Regions from separate parts of the Homo sapiens genome. Here regions 2, 3 and 4 are each linked to region 1. Evidence: promoter capture Hi-C in 16 types of primary human blood cells and fetal thymus (Javierre and others, 2016). All regions are on one chromosome and are shown on one strand. The core of a region is centred on a gene start or on the middle of the fragment in contact, and the rest is flanking DNA. Distances in the headings are between cores, read along the strand shown. Region 1 holds the start of ETHE1 (ETHE1 persulfide dioxygenase). Region 2 holds the start of IRGC (immunity related GTPase cinema). Region 3 overlaps SMG9 (SMG9 nonsense mediated mRNA decay factor). Region 4 overlaps KCNN4 (potassium calcium-activated channel subfamily N member 4).

Region 1 (3,123 bases), core at 624-3,123:
TGCAGTGGCACGATCTCAGCTCACTGCAACCTCCACCTCCCGAGTTCAGGCAATTCTCCTGCCTCAGCCTCCTGAGTAGCTGGGATAACAGGTGTGCACCACCACACCCAGCTAATTTTTATATTTTTAGTAGAGATGGTGTTTCACCATGTTGGTCAGGCTGGTCTTGAACTCCTGACCTCGTGATCCGCCCGCCTCAGCCTCCCAAAGTGCTGGGATTACAGGCATGAGCCACCGCGCCCAGCCGGCCACATAAAATTTTAATGAAGCAATTTGATAGGCTTAAGGAAAAGCAGGCCTTCTCTGTGTAAAGGCATTCACACAGGGGCTGCTCTGAAAATAGCTCCAGGGACCATTCCCTGGAAACTCCAGAATTAAGATAAATGTTGTTGCAGGAAACCCCTCCTCAGAAGCTGTGGGACAGGATAACTCAGTGGTTCATACCTGTAATCCCAGCATTTTGGGAGGCCCAGGTGGGAGGACCATTTGAGGCCAGGAGCTGGAGACCAGCCTAGGCAACATAGCAAGACCCCTGTTTCTACAAAAAAAATTCTAACAATTAAAAAAAAAAAAAAAAGCTCTGCCCCTAGGCTGGAAATCAAGGCTGCTCTGATGTCACAAAGTGACATAGATCCTCCAGATGAGAGTGGGATGTCCTATTCTCACTACTGCTACGATTACAAAGAGCAGACTTTCTGACAGCTCATGACTTGAGACTACAGTTTTTCAGCCCCAGGTCCTTGGTGTAAATGAACACAAGCTCTTTTCAGAGGTTCACACCCCAACAGAAGATGAATAATCCCCAATCTGATTATTCAAGAGATAATGCAAAATTATCTTTTTTTTTTTTTTTAAGATTTCTTCCTGGAAAGAGAGAAACATTCCTGATAAAATGCTTATGCAATTTCTGGATGAACTTTAATGGGATCAAGTGTTGTTCTGGTAACCAGGCACCCACTCAAAAGTCCCTCAAGATATTAATGACCTGGAACCGAACGAATATCTTTTTTTTTTGAGACAGAGTCTCCCTCTGTCGCCCAGGCTGGAGTGCAGTGGCGTCATCTCTACTCACTGCAACCTCTGCCTCCCGGAACCGAACATCTTTTTCTAACCATGACTATCCTACCACCTGCTAGAAAACGGCCCCACGGGACGCGGTGGCTCACGTCTGTAATCCCAGCACTTTGGGAGGACAAGGTGGGAGGAACGCTTGAGCTCAGGAGTTCGAGATCAGCCTGGGCAACATAGTGAGAACTCCGTCTCTGCAAAAAACAAATTTTATATACATGTATGTGTGTGTGTGTGTGTATATATATATATGTATATAAATATATATATAGATATAAATATATATATATAAAATGTCGGGTGTGGTGGCAACGTGCCATAGTCCCAGCTACTCGGGAGGCTGAGGTTGGAGGATCGCTTGAACCCGGGAGTTTAAGGCTGTAGTAAGCTGAGATCGAGTCACTGCACTCAAGCCTGCGTGACAGAGCGAGACTCTGTCTCAAAATAAAACAAAAGAAAAAGGAAAAAAAACGGCCCCGAGGCTATGAGTGTACTGGGGCCTCTCCCTGGGTTTCTACTTCTCTCCCTATCTCTGTTCCTACATGAGTATGTCTGTGTGTCTCTGAGCGTCTGTCCCTCGCACTTTGAGTGTCTCCCTGTTCTCTGTTTTTTCTGGGTCTCAAAGCGTCCAGGCATTGCACTCTGGCTTTCCTCGGTCTCGCCCTCGCCCCAGTCCCGCTCGGCGGTCCCCCGCCCTCTGCCCCAGGCGTCCGTGGCCCCTTTAAGGCGTGCTCCGCCCCCGCCCCGCCCTTCCCGGGGTCAGTGCCGTAGCGCCCGGCTCCTGCAGGCGCTCGGCCTCCGCTCATTCCTGACCCCGCAGTGGGCGCGATGGCGGAGGCTGTACTGAGGGTCGCCCGGCGGCAGCTGAGCCAGCGCGGCGGGTCTGGAGCCCCCATCCTCCTGCGGCAGGTGCGGGTGGCTGGACCTAGGAGGGGACTGCTGGGCACTAGGCGGCAGCAAGGACGGAACTCCGGGGTCTCTTAATAGGGAGAGATCCGGGGGGACCCACGCCTGCATCTTGCGGAAAGCGGGGTGGAGGTTTAGGGCTGGACTCTTGGGTCCTTTAAAGGTGAGTGGTCTGGGGGCCTCTGGGCTTGGGGCCAGACCCCTGGGTCCTCTATGAAAGAACGTGCTGGGGACCCTGATTTTGGGATGTTAGGAAGTTGGAACTCTTTTGTTCTGATAGGGGAAGGTAGTGGGGCTCCGGACTCCCGACTCCCGGGGAAAGAGTGGGCTGGGGTTTCTGCTTCTGGATCTTAGGAAGAGGATAGGGTCAGTCTGGACTACTTGGCCTCCAGTGGGTGGAAGTCCGGTTCTGCGCCCTCACCTGGGTCCCCCGTTCCCAGATGTTCGAGCCTGTGAGCTGCACCTTCACGTACCTGCTGGGTGACAGAGAGTCCCGGGAGGCCGTTCTGATCGACCCAGTCCTGGAAACAGCGCCTCGGGATGCCCAGCTGATCAAGGAGCTGGGGCTGCGGCTGCTCTATGCTGGTCAGTCCGGGGACCAAACTCATGGATCCCAGCGGGGCTGGGCTGCAGCGTCAGTGGAATGGGAAGCTGGGGCCCAGAACTCCTGAGTCTGAGGGAGAAGGATCTGGGCTGGGACTCCCAGGTCCTTTCTGTACCCTCCGGACCTGTCCCTCCTCTCTCTCCCAGTGAATACCCACTGCCACGCGGACCACATTACAGGCTCGGGGCTGCTCCGTTCCCTCCTCCCTGGCTGCCAGTCTGTCATCTCCCGCCTTAGTGGGGCCCAGGCTGACTTACACATTGAGGATGGAGACTCCATCCGCTTCGGGCGCTTCGTGAGTTGGGTGCTGGGTCCCCAAGAGGGTGGTGGCCTGGACTTCTTAAACTTAAGGGAAGAGGGGACTGGGGGCCTGGGATCCTGAGTCCTTGGGGAGGAGGGACCTCAGGACCTGGGTTTCTGACCCCTGAGCTCATATTTCTGGGAGGGGGGCACCATAAACCCAGGTGGGGCACTGGGGCAAGAGGCTCTGGGCAGGTGGGGCACTGGCGGAACTCCTAAGTCAACAGCATTTAAGGAGTTTCCTT
Region 2 (2,840 bases), core at 271-2,770, 190 kb before region 1:
GGAGCCAGACTGCCTGGGATCAAATCCTGGCTCCACCACATACTTACTGAGTGATGTGAGGCAAGTTACTTAACTCTCTCCTCACTCTCCTCATCTGAACACTGAGAATGATACCTACAATCCTGGCAAACCACCTCCTAGGATCTCTGTGACTTGAATGAGTTATGACATAAAGCAGCCCATAAAACGGCGCCTGGCTCAGGGCAGGTGCCTCGTGTCATTGGCATCACCATCATCGTCATTATTCTTATCATTAGTAATATTCTTAGCTGTGTGACTTTGAGCAAGTCCTCGCCCTGTCTGAGCCTCAGCTGCCCCGTGGGGGATACTCCTCCCCACCTCGCAGGGCTGCTGTGATGCCCACAAACCCCGTTCAGCTAGCCCTAGGCTGACTTTGGGTTCAGACGCCCTTGGGTTCGGGAAGCCAGACATGGGGACCACCTGGACACCAGGAGTCATTTCCATGAAACCCCACCCCTGCCATGGCAGCCCTTGCCTCCCGGGGTTCAGTTCCCCTCCCACCGCCCAGAGCTCCTGTCGTGATGGTCCCCCCTCAGATCCCTCCTCCTCACCAGGAGCTTCCCTGGTCCTCCCTCTTCCCACTCACCCTCCTCTGGCCCATCATCTCTAAAATACATTTACTCACTAAGGGTCTTCAGGGTGCCCTGGGAGAGCTGCTCATGTCTGGGATCACTGTCCCCATTTGACAGGGAGAAGGACTGAGGCTCAGACAAGACAAATGAGGTCTCCTCATCCAGAGGCATAGCCAGGACCCCAACCCAGGTCCCCAGGCTCCTTCACCCACCTAGAGAGCTACTCTCCCTTCAGCTGCATGTCCCTGCCTCCTGCATTGTCTCCTTGCCCCCTGCACCCCGTCTCTTCACCTCCTACCACTCACCCCATCCTCTGCTACCCCACTCCACCCCCCACAGAAATATGTCCTTAAGACATTGTTCCCGGCTGGGCATGGTGGCTCACGCCTGTAATCCTAGCACTTTGGGAGGCCGAGGTGGGTGGATCACTTGAGGTCAGGAGTTCGAGACCAGCCTGGCCAACATGGTGAAACTCCATCTCCACTAAAAATACAAAAATTAGCCAGGTGTTGTGGCGCATGCCTGTAGTCCCAGCTCTTGAACCCAGGAGGCGGAGGTTGCAGTGAGCCAAGATTGCACCACTGCACTCCAGCCTGGGCGACAGAGCGAGACTCCGTCTCAGAAAAAAAAAAAGGAAAAAAAAAAGACATTGTTGCCTCCAGATCTGAGCCTCCTATCCTGGGTGTGCCCTCTCCCTAGTATGGTCTGCGGTGGGAAGAGTAGGAACCTGGAACAGGTCCTGGCAGCAAGGGGCAGACAAGTCAGTGGTTGGAATTTGGGCTGAGGGGGTCCGGATTAGACCATAAGCTCCTGCTCCGCCCACGCACAGGGGCCCAGCGAGAGAGCCCTGGGGGACTCACCTGCCCTGCAGGCTCTCCCTCTCCCCTCACACTCTCCCCACTGATAGGATCTCCTTCCCTCTTAGCCAAGGTCAGACACCGTTGCTAGGACCCATTATCATAGCAAGCAGCAGCTTATTGGTCAGCCAGACCTGGTGCAATAATGCGACAGTGATGTCAGGGGGTGGGGCCCGGAGGTGGAGCAGGGACCCCAAGCCCCAGCTGCTCATGGGGTCACCACCCACTCACACTGGGCCCTCCAGTTCCCCTGAAGACTCCAGAGAGATCTTTCTAACACCAAGACCTGTTCAAAATCCTCCATGGTCTCCATCACCCCCCAAGGACAAAGTCTCAGATTCACAGATTGGTTTCCAAGGGCTTGGCCCTGCTACCACTCCACCCTCCACCCAGGGGACTGTCAGTTCCCCAGAGAAGTGTGAAAGTTGATGATACAAATTCGGTCATTGCTGGTGGGCACAGTGGCTCACGCCTGTAATGCCAGCACTTTGGGAGGCCGAGGCGAGTGCATCACTTGAGGCCAGGAGTTTGAGATCAGCCTGGGCAATGTGGTGAAACTCCATCTCTACTAAAAATACAAAAATTAGCCAGATGTGGTGCATGCATGTAGTCCCAGCTACTCGGGAGGCTGATCTGCTATCTTGTAAGCCCAATAATTTAGTCATTGATTTCTTTTTTTTCTTTTTTTGAAACAGTGTCTTGCTCTGTCACCCAGGCTGGAGTGCAGTGACACAATCTTGGCTCACTGCAACCTCCGCCTCCTGGGTTCAAGTGATTCTCCTGCTTCAGCCTCCTGAGTAGCTGGGACTACTAGCATGCACCACCAGGCTTGGCTAATTTTTTTTTTTTTTTTTTTTTTTTAGTAGAGGTGGGGTTTCACCATGTTGCCTAGGCTGGTCTTGAACTCCTGACCTCAGGTTATCCGCCTGCCTCGCCTCCCAAACCTCCTGACCTCAGGTTATGCCGCCTCCCAAAGCGCTAAGATTACAGGTGTAGCCACTACACCCGGCCCCTTCTTGTCCTTTATAAGTGTCTCTGTCCTGTCTCCCCTCCGGGCTTCCTCTCTGCCCAGGCCAGGCTCCACAGGGCCTTCTCCATTCTCCTCTTGTAGGGAATTTACAATAACGCTACTCAGAGGATTTTCCTGACCATCTGCAGGCCAGTTCTGGAAAGGAGCCTCTGAGAACAACTAAGGAGAGAGAGGCCCAGAAGGGGAATAGACTAGCTCAGAGCCACCCTGAGAGCTGGGGAAGAGTGGGCTGTTGGCCGCATAGTACAGAGTTCTTAAGCCACAGGTGAAAGGGAGGTGCAGGGCAAAAGACACACGACTCACTCATGCTCTCACTGACTGACACAAACACACAGAGCTGAAGAGAGTGAACAACATGGT
Region 3 (2,738 bases), core at 106-2,605, 220 kb before region 1:
AGGGAAGTTTCTGGAAGCTGCCAAGCCACACTTCTAGTGTCATACCATAGCCAGAAAGTACTTACTCACATGGCCACACCTAACTGCAAACAAGGATGAGAAGTTTGTTCTGGATAGCCATGTACCTAGCTCAGAACTGAGGGTTTTACTTTTTTGGAAGAAGTCAGGAGTGGATGTTGGGAACCAGCTTGCAGTTGCTACCACAGGCCCAGAGCTCTGTTGAAAGGAAGGGCCTTGGCCGGGCATGGTGGCTCACGCCTATAATCCCAGCCCTTTGGGAGGCTGAGGCAGGTGGATTGCCTGAGGTCAGGAGTTTGAGACCAGCCTGGCCAACATGGTGAAACCCCATCTCTACTAAAAATACAAAAAAAATTAGTCGGGTGTGGTGGTGGGCATCTGTAATCCCAGCTTCTCAGGAGACTGAGGCAGGAGAATTGCTTGAATCTGTGAGGTGGAGGCTGCAGTGAGCCGAGATTACGCCATTGCACTCCAGCCTCGGTGACAAGAGCGAAACTCTGTCTCAAAAAAAAGAAGAAAGGAAGAGCCTTGGTTGGGCACAGTGGCTCACATCTGTAATCCCAGCACTTTGGGAGGCCAAGGTAGGTGCATCACCTGAGGTCAGGAGTTCGAGACCAGCCTGGCCAACATGGTGAAACCCCATCTCTACTAAAAATATAAAAATTAGCCAGGCATGGTGGTGGGTGCCTGTAATCCCAGCTACTTGGGAGGCTGAGGCAGAAGAATTGCTTGAACTCAGGAGGCAGAGGTTGCAGTGAGCCAAGATCAGGCCACTGTACTCCAGCCTGGGCGACAGAGAGACTCCATCTCCAAAAAAAAGAAAGAAGGGACTTCGTATAGTCTAGGATATGCCAAGTAGAGTAGGAAGAGACTCTGTCATCCTGAAATCCCCTCATTCCCTCCATAGGTAACCATGTCTGAGTCTGGACACAGTCAGCCTGGACTCTATGGGATAGAGCGGCGGCGACGGTGGAAGGAGCCTGGCTCTGGTGGCCCCCAGAATCTCTCTGGGCCTGGTGGTCGGGAGAGGGACTACATTGCACCATGGGAAAGAGAGAGAAGGGTGAGTGTCTGGACCCAGGAGCAGCATTCATGTATCTATTTGGTTCCACGCACCTGCCATGTGCCAGGCACTAATCCAGATGCCGGGGATATATTTGTAAACAAAACCTACCACCCTCATGGATAAAGAAGGTGGAGAGTGATAAAGGAGACTGTTCTAGATAACATGGTCAGAGAAGGTCTCTCTGAAGAGGTGACTTTTTAGCAGAGACTTGAAGGAGATGAGAGAATAAGCCATGCCAGCATCTGAGATGAAGAGCATTCCAGACAGAAAGAACAGCAAGCGCAGAGGCCCTGAGGTGGCCCATATCTGGCGTGTTCAAGGAGTAGCCATAGGAGGCCAGGATGGCTGCAATTGATGAGGAAGGAGGGAGAGAGATAGGAGATGAAGTCAAGTAACTGGGGCCAAATCATGTAGGACCTGGTAGGCCTTGGAAAGAACTTTGTATTTCACTGAGTGAAATTGGCATTGGAGAGTTTGAGCTGAGAGGTGCCATAGCTCATGTTTTAAAGGGTCATGTCATAATAACAACAACTGTTACTCTTTTTACTGAGCAGCCTATACTGTGCTTGCACTGTGCAAAGTCTTTTACATCCTTTGGGTCTTCCTGAACCCTTACAGCTACCCCATGAGGTAGATTCTATGATAGATCTGATTTTCACTAATGAGGAAAATGAGCCCCAGAGGTGAAGGGACTTTTCCAAAATCAGAGTCAATAAACTTTGGGTCCAGGACTCAGATCCAGGTCCAGCTTAGTCTCACATATAGCATCGCTCTGCCTGCTGTAGAGAGCGCCCTGGGCTGGGAATCAGGAGGGATCGGCTTGTGCCCAGGCCCAGCCTCGCTCCCCTCCTGTACCTAGGTGACTCACTGCCAGAACCTGCCCCCTGGGCTTTTTTCTCTAGGGCCCTGTCCACCTCAGAGATGTCAGGTAGGGTGGAAGTAGGTGACAACTGGGGCCAGCTTCTGAGCTATAAAACTGTACAAACATGAAGAATAGTTTTTTCACAGTGAGCTGGGCTCTTACTTGCTCCTTCTCTTGGGCCACAGTGTAAATGAGAACACGTAGTCTCTCTTCCTTCCACATAATGCCCTCCTGGGGAATGTTATCCCGCCACACCTTCAGGTTTAATCCTTGAACAAGCACCTCCTAAACCTCATCTTTGTCTCTAAATGTGCTACTGAGCCCTGGCAGCCTCTTGTCACACCCATGGGCTTCTTATCCTCTGTGTCCCGTGCTGACCTCGGCATCTTTCTGCCATTTTTCCTCTTCCCATTTTTTTCTCCCATATCAGTGACAGCCCATTGGGCCTTATCCTGAATGCCTCTCTCGCCTCTCCCCTGCTTCCTCTGTGCTAGTCAGGCACCAGTGCTTTACATTCTGCCGCCTGGTTATATCTGTGTGTCTTCTCTCTACCCTCACAGCGTTCATCCCAGGTATAGACTGAATATCCGAAGTGCTCCAAAATTCCAAATGTTTTGAGCACCAACGTGACATTTAAGGGAAATGTTTATTGGAGCCTTGCAAATGGATTTGGGGTGCTCAACCAGTAAATATGCAAATATTCCAAAGTTCAAAAAAATCCCAAATTCAGAACACTTCTGGTCCCAGGCATCTGAGATAAGAGATACTCAGCCTGTATCATCTCCCCCTTCC
Region 4 (3,064 bases), core at 427-2,926, 240 kb before region 1:
TGGTGGCCTTTGCTTTTTCTCGTTAGCCCACGACAGTTCAAACAGTGGCCCCTGGCAGCAATGCCATGGTAAGCACGGTCACAGATGCAGGCCCCAAAACCGCATGGCAGGTCTCAGTGACGAGGCAGTGGCCCAGATCTGCAGGAATTGGCAGGTGGTAATTTCTGAAGGTTATCAAGCCAAAAACACAGAATTCAAGAATTTCCATAGAAAATCCACAAACCCTCAGGGATCAACTAGTGAATCCTAGCCAGAGAATGCAGTAAAAGACTATGTGGATTTGGAAGTCAGGCATCATCCATGCTAGAAATATCTAATGAGCACCTGCTATGTTCTAGGTCTTATTTCAGGAGCTGCTTTGGGCATGTCATTTAACTGTTCCATGCCTGTTTCCTCAGCTGTAAGACAGGAACAGGATTCCCACTCCCTGTGGCTTTTGGGAGGATTTTAAACCATATAGGGAAACACCTGGGCAGGTAGCTGGGAAGTGGTAGGTGGTCAATACATGGTAACAGTTATTGTCGAGGGTAATCCTCAGAGGACCATAAGGATGTGGTCAATATTGGTTCCATTGCCTTACGCTATGGAGTAGGTGGGGGTCGACCCCAGCCCCGACACCTCTGATCCTCTCCTCCCACCCAGATGCACATGATCCTGTATGACCTGCAGCAGAATCTGAGCAGCTCACACCGGGCCCTGGAGAAACAGATTGACACGCTGGCGGGGAAGCTGGATGCCCTGACTGAGCTGCTTAGCACTGCCCTGGGGCCGAGGCAGCTTCCAGAACCCAGCCAGCAGTCCAAGTAGCTGGTGAGGGGGCTGGGACTTGGGCAGGAAGGCATCCTGGAGGAAGGGTTCCTGTGGCCAGCACCCTATGTGGCTAAGGGGGCGGGGGATGGCTGGGAGACAAGGCCGCCTTTTCTCATCAGCTCTGGCACTGTCTGGAGGAAAGGACTCAGTTCGGGGCTGGACTGGCAGTGAAGGAAGATGGTGTACCCTCTCCCCTTCACTGACCCTTGATGGCCTTCTCCCTCTTTGCTTGGTCTCTCTCTCTCTCTCTGCCTGTCCTGGGCACATTGTCTGGCTGTCCATCCAATGTCTCTGTCTAAATGCCCTCCTGCCCCCTGGCCTCGGGGCCCGGAAACACCTGCCCCCTGTCTCCCACTTCTGCCCACCGGTTTCTGTCTGCACCTCGGTGTGTCCCACTCTCACTCTCCCTCTTCCTGGCCTGCCTCTCCATCAGTCTCTCTGTCTCTCCAGGACCCACGAGGAGGAACCAGGCTACTTTCCCCAGTACTGAGGTGGTGGACATCGTCTCTGCCACTCCTGACCCAGCCCTGAACAAAGCACCTCAAGTGCAAGGACCAAAGGGGGCCCTGGCTTGGAGTGGGTTGGCTTGCTGATGGCTGCTGGAGGGGACGCTGGCTAAAGTGGGTAGGCCTTGGCCCACCTGAGGCCCCAGGTGGGAACATGGTCACCCCCACTCTGCATACCCTCATCAAAAACACTCTCACTATGCTGCTATGGACGACCTCCAGCTCTCAGTTACAAGTGCAGGCGACTGGAGGCAGGACTCCTGGGTCCCTGGGAAAGAGGGTACTAGGGGCCCGGATCCAGGATTCTGGGAGGCTTCAGTTACCGCTGGCCGAGCTGAAGAACTGGGTATGAGGCTGGGGCGGGGCTGGAGGTGGCGCCCCCTGGTGGGACAACAAAGAGGACACCATTTTTCCAGAGCTGCAGAGAGCACCTGGTGGGGAGGAAGAAGTGTAACTCACCAGCCTCTGCTCTTATCTTTGTAATAAATGTTAAAGCCAGAAGTTGCCATTTCTCTCTAAACATATCTACACTCCTAACTGGCAGACCGTCCAGTGGAAGACTGTTGCCTTGTCTGAACCTGTCTCAGAGGCCTTCTCCTGTAAGTGCCCTCCCAACTCTGTAGGCTGGGCAGTCCTCAGCAACAGTCCCCTGCCCAGATCTGAGGCAAAGAGCAACAGCTTTGAACTCAGACAGATCAGGGTCCAAATCCTGGTTCTACCATCCACTGGTGGTGTGATCTTGGGTAAGTGGCTTCACCTCTGAACAGTTTACCTCACCTGTGAAATGGGACTGCCTCCCCATGGAACTGCTGTGAAGATTAAAACATGGAGTAGCCCAGAGGCATTTAGTAGGAACCAAATATGTGAGAGAGAATCTTTTTTTTTTTTTTTTGAGATGGAGTCTTGCTCTGTCACCCAGGCTGGAGTACAGTGGCGCGATTTCGGCTCACTGCAACCTCCGCCTCCAGAGTTCAAGCGATTCTCCTGCCTTAGTCCCCAAGTAGCTGGGATTACAGGCACCTGCCACCACGCCTGGCTAATTTTTGTATTTTTAGTAGAGATGGGGTTTCACTATGTTGCAGATGCTGGTCTTGAACTCCTGGGCTCAAGCAATCTGCCCGCCTCAGCCTCCCAAAGTGCTGGGATTACAAGCGTGAGCCACTGTCCCTGGCCAAGAATCATTTTTATTATTGTTTTTGATTTTCACACACAATGCGTGGCTGCCCTTTTTCTGATTTTTTGTTGCTTTTCTCCCTCTATTCATGCCTTACCAGAATCTAGATGACAACTCACTCATCAAGAGACTAACAGAGGCCCCAAACCTCCCCAAACCACCCACATACCCGTTTCACATCCGCTCAAGAGAGGATGTGAAAGGGAAGGGGGCAAAGGAGGGGGGCTGGCACTTCCAGAGGCCCTACTGTGTGCCCAGCTCTGTTTATAAGTCACCATAACCACTCTCCTGACCCTCGTTACCCCACTGCACAGATGTAGAAACCGAGGTTTCAAGAGGAGCCAGGCCTCCCCTCAGGCCCCCAGCCGGAAGCTAGGAATACGGGCTGGAGAGCCCAGATTCACACCCATCCCGCCCCACTGCAAGGTGAGTCAGAGGCAGAGTGGCCTTGGGCCACAAACCGAGGACTGACTTCCCGCCGCAACTTCATTCCAGCTTGAGAGGCTGATTCATTCTTGCTTCCCTCCTCTTGAGGGGAAGATCAGGCTGCGAGTCATCCTTTTCTGTTGAGCTA

The links. Contacts are between HindIII fragments. The CHiCAGO score rates a contact against its expected background, and 5 or more counts as called.
Region 2: the fragment with the promoter of IRGC here is called in contact with the fragment with the promoter of ETHE1 in region 1 in 11 of 17 cell types (total B cells, monocytes, total CD4 T cells and 8 more); the score reaches 11.3 in total B cells.
Region 3: a fragment that was not itself captured here is called in contact with the fragment with the promoter of ETHE1 in region 1 in 5 of 17 cell types (activated CD4 T cells, total CD8 T cells, fetal thymus and 2 more); the score reaches 7.0 in activated CD4 T cells.
Region 4: a contact is called between a fragment that was not itself captured here and the fragment with the promoter of ETHE1 in region 1, in 1 of 17 cell types (monocytes). The highest score is 5.0, in monocytes.

What each region holds. Positions count from the first base shown.
Region 1 is chr19:43,525,951-43,529,073 of GRCh38, reverse strand. It overlaps ETHE1 (ETHE1 persulfide dioxygenase), which reads left to right and starts at 1,873. Exons shown (of 7, transcript NM_014297.5): 1 at 1,873-1,977; 2 at 2,415-2,559; 3 at 2,725-2,873. The coding sequence starts at 1,897. RefSeq lists a silencer at 1,722-1,911 and enhancers at 2,522-2,701, 2,217-2,721, 2,722-3,123. The HindIII fragment of the contact is 10,435 bases long and covers 1-3,123 here.
Region 2 is chr19:43,714,756-43,717,595 of GRCh38, reverse strand. IRGC (immunity related GTPase cinema) reads right to left here and starts at 1,520. Exons shown (of 2, transcript NM_019612.4): 1 at 1,454-1,520. RefSeq lists an enhancer at 1,047-1,547. The HindIII fragment of the contact is 15,065 bases long and covers 1-2,840 here.
Region 3 is chr19:43,748,935-43,751,672 of GRCh38, reverse strand. SMG9 (SMG9 nonsense mediated mRNA decay factor) reads left to right here. Exons shown (of 14, transcript NM_019108.4): 2 at 926-1,081. The coding sequence starts at 932. Among named protein-coding and RNA genes, the nearest start is that of SMG9, 4.7 kb to the left of the region's middle. The HindIII fragment of the contact is 8,040 bases long and covers 1-2,738 here.
Region 4 is chr19:43,765,286-43,768,349 of GRCh38, reverse strand. It overlaps KCNN4 (potassium calcium-activated channel subfamily N member 4), which reads left to right. Exons shown (of 9, transcript NM_002250.3): 8 at 643-810; 9 at 1,261-1,817. The coding sequence ends at 807. Among named protein-coding and RNA genes, the nearest start is that of SMG9, 12 kb to the right of the region's middle. RefSeq lists a silencer at 1,931-2,094 and enhancers at 2,481-2,570, 3,001-3,064. The HindIII fragment of the contact is 8,185 bases long and covers 1-3,064 here.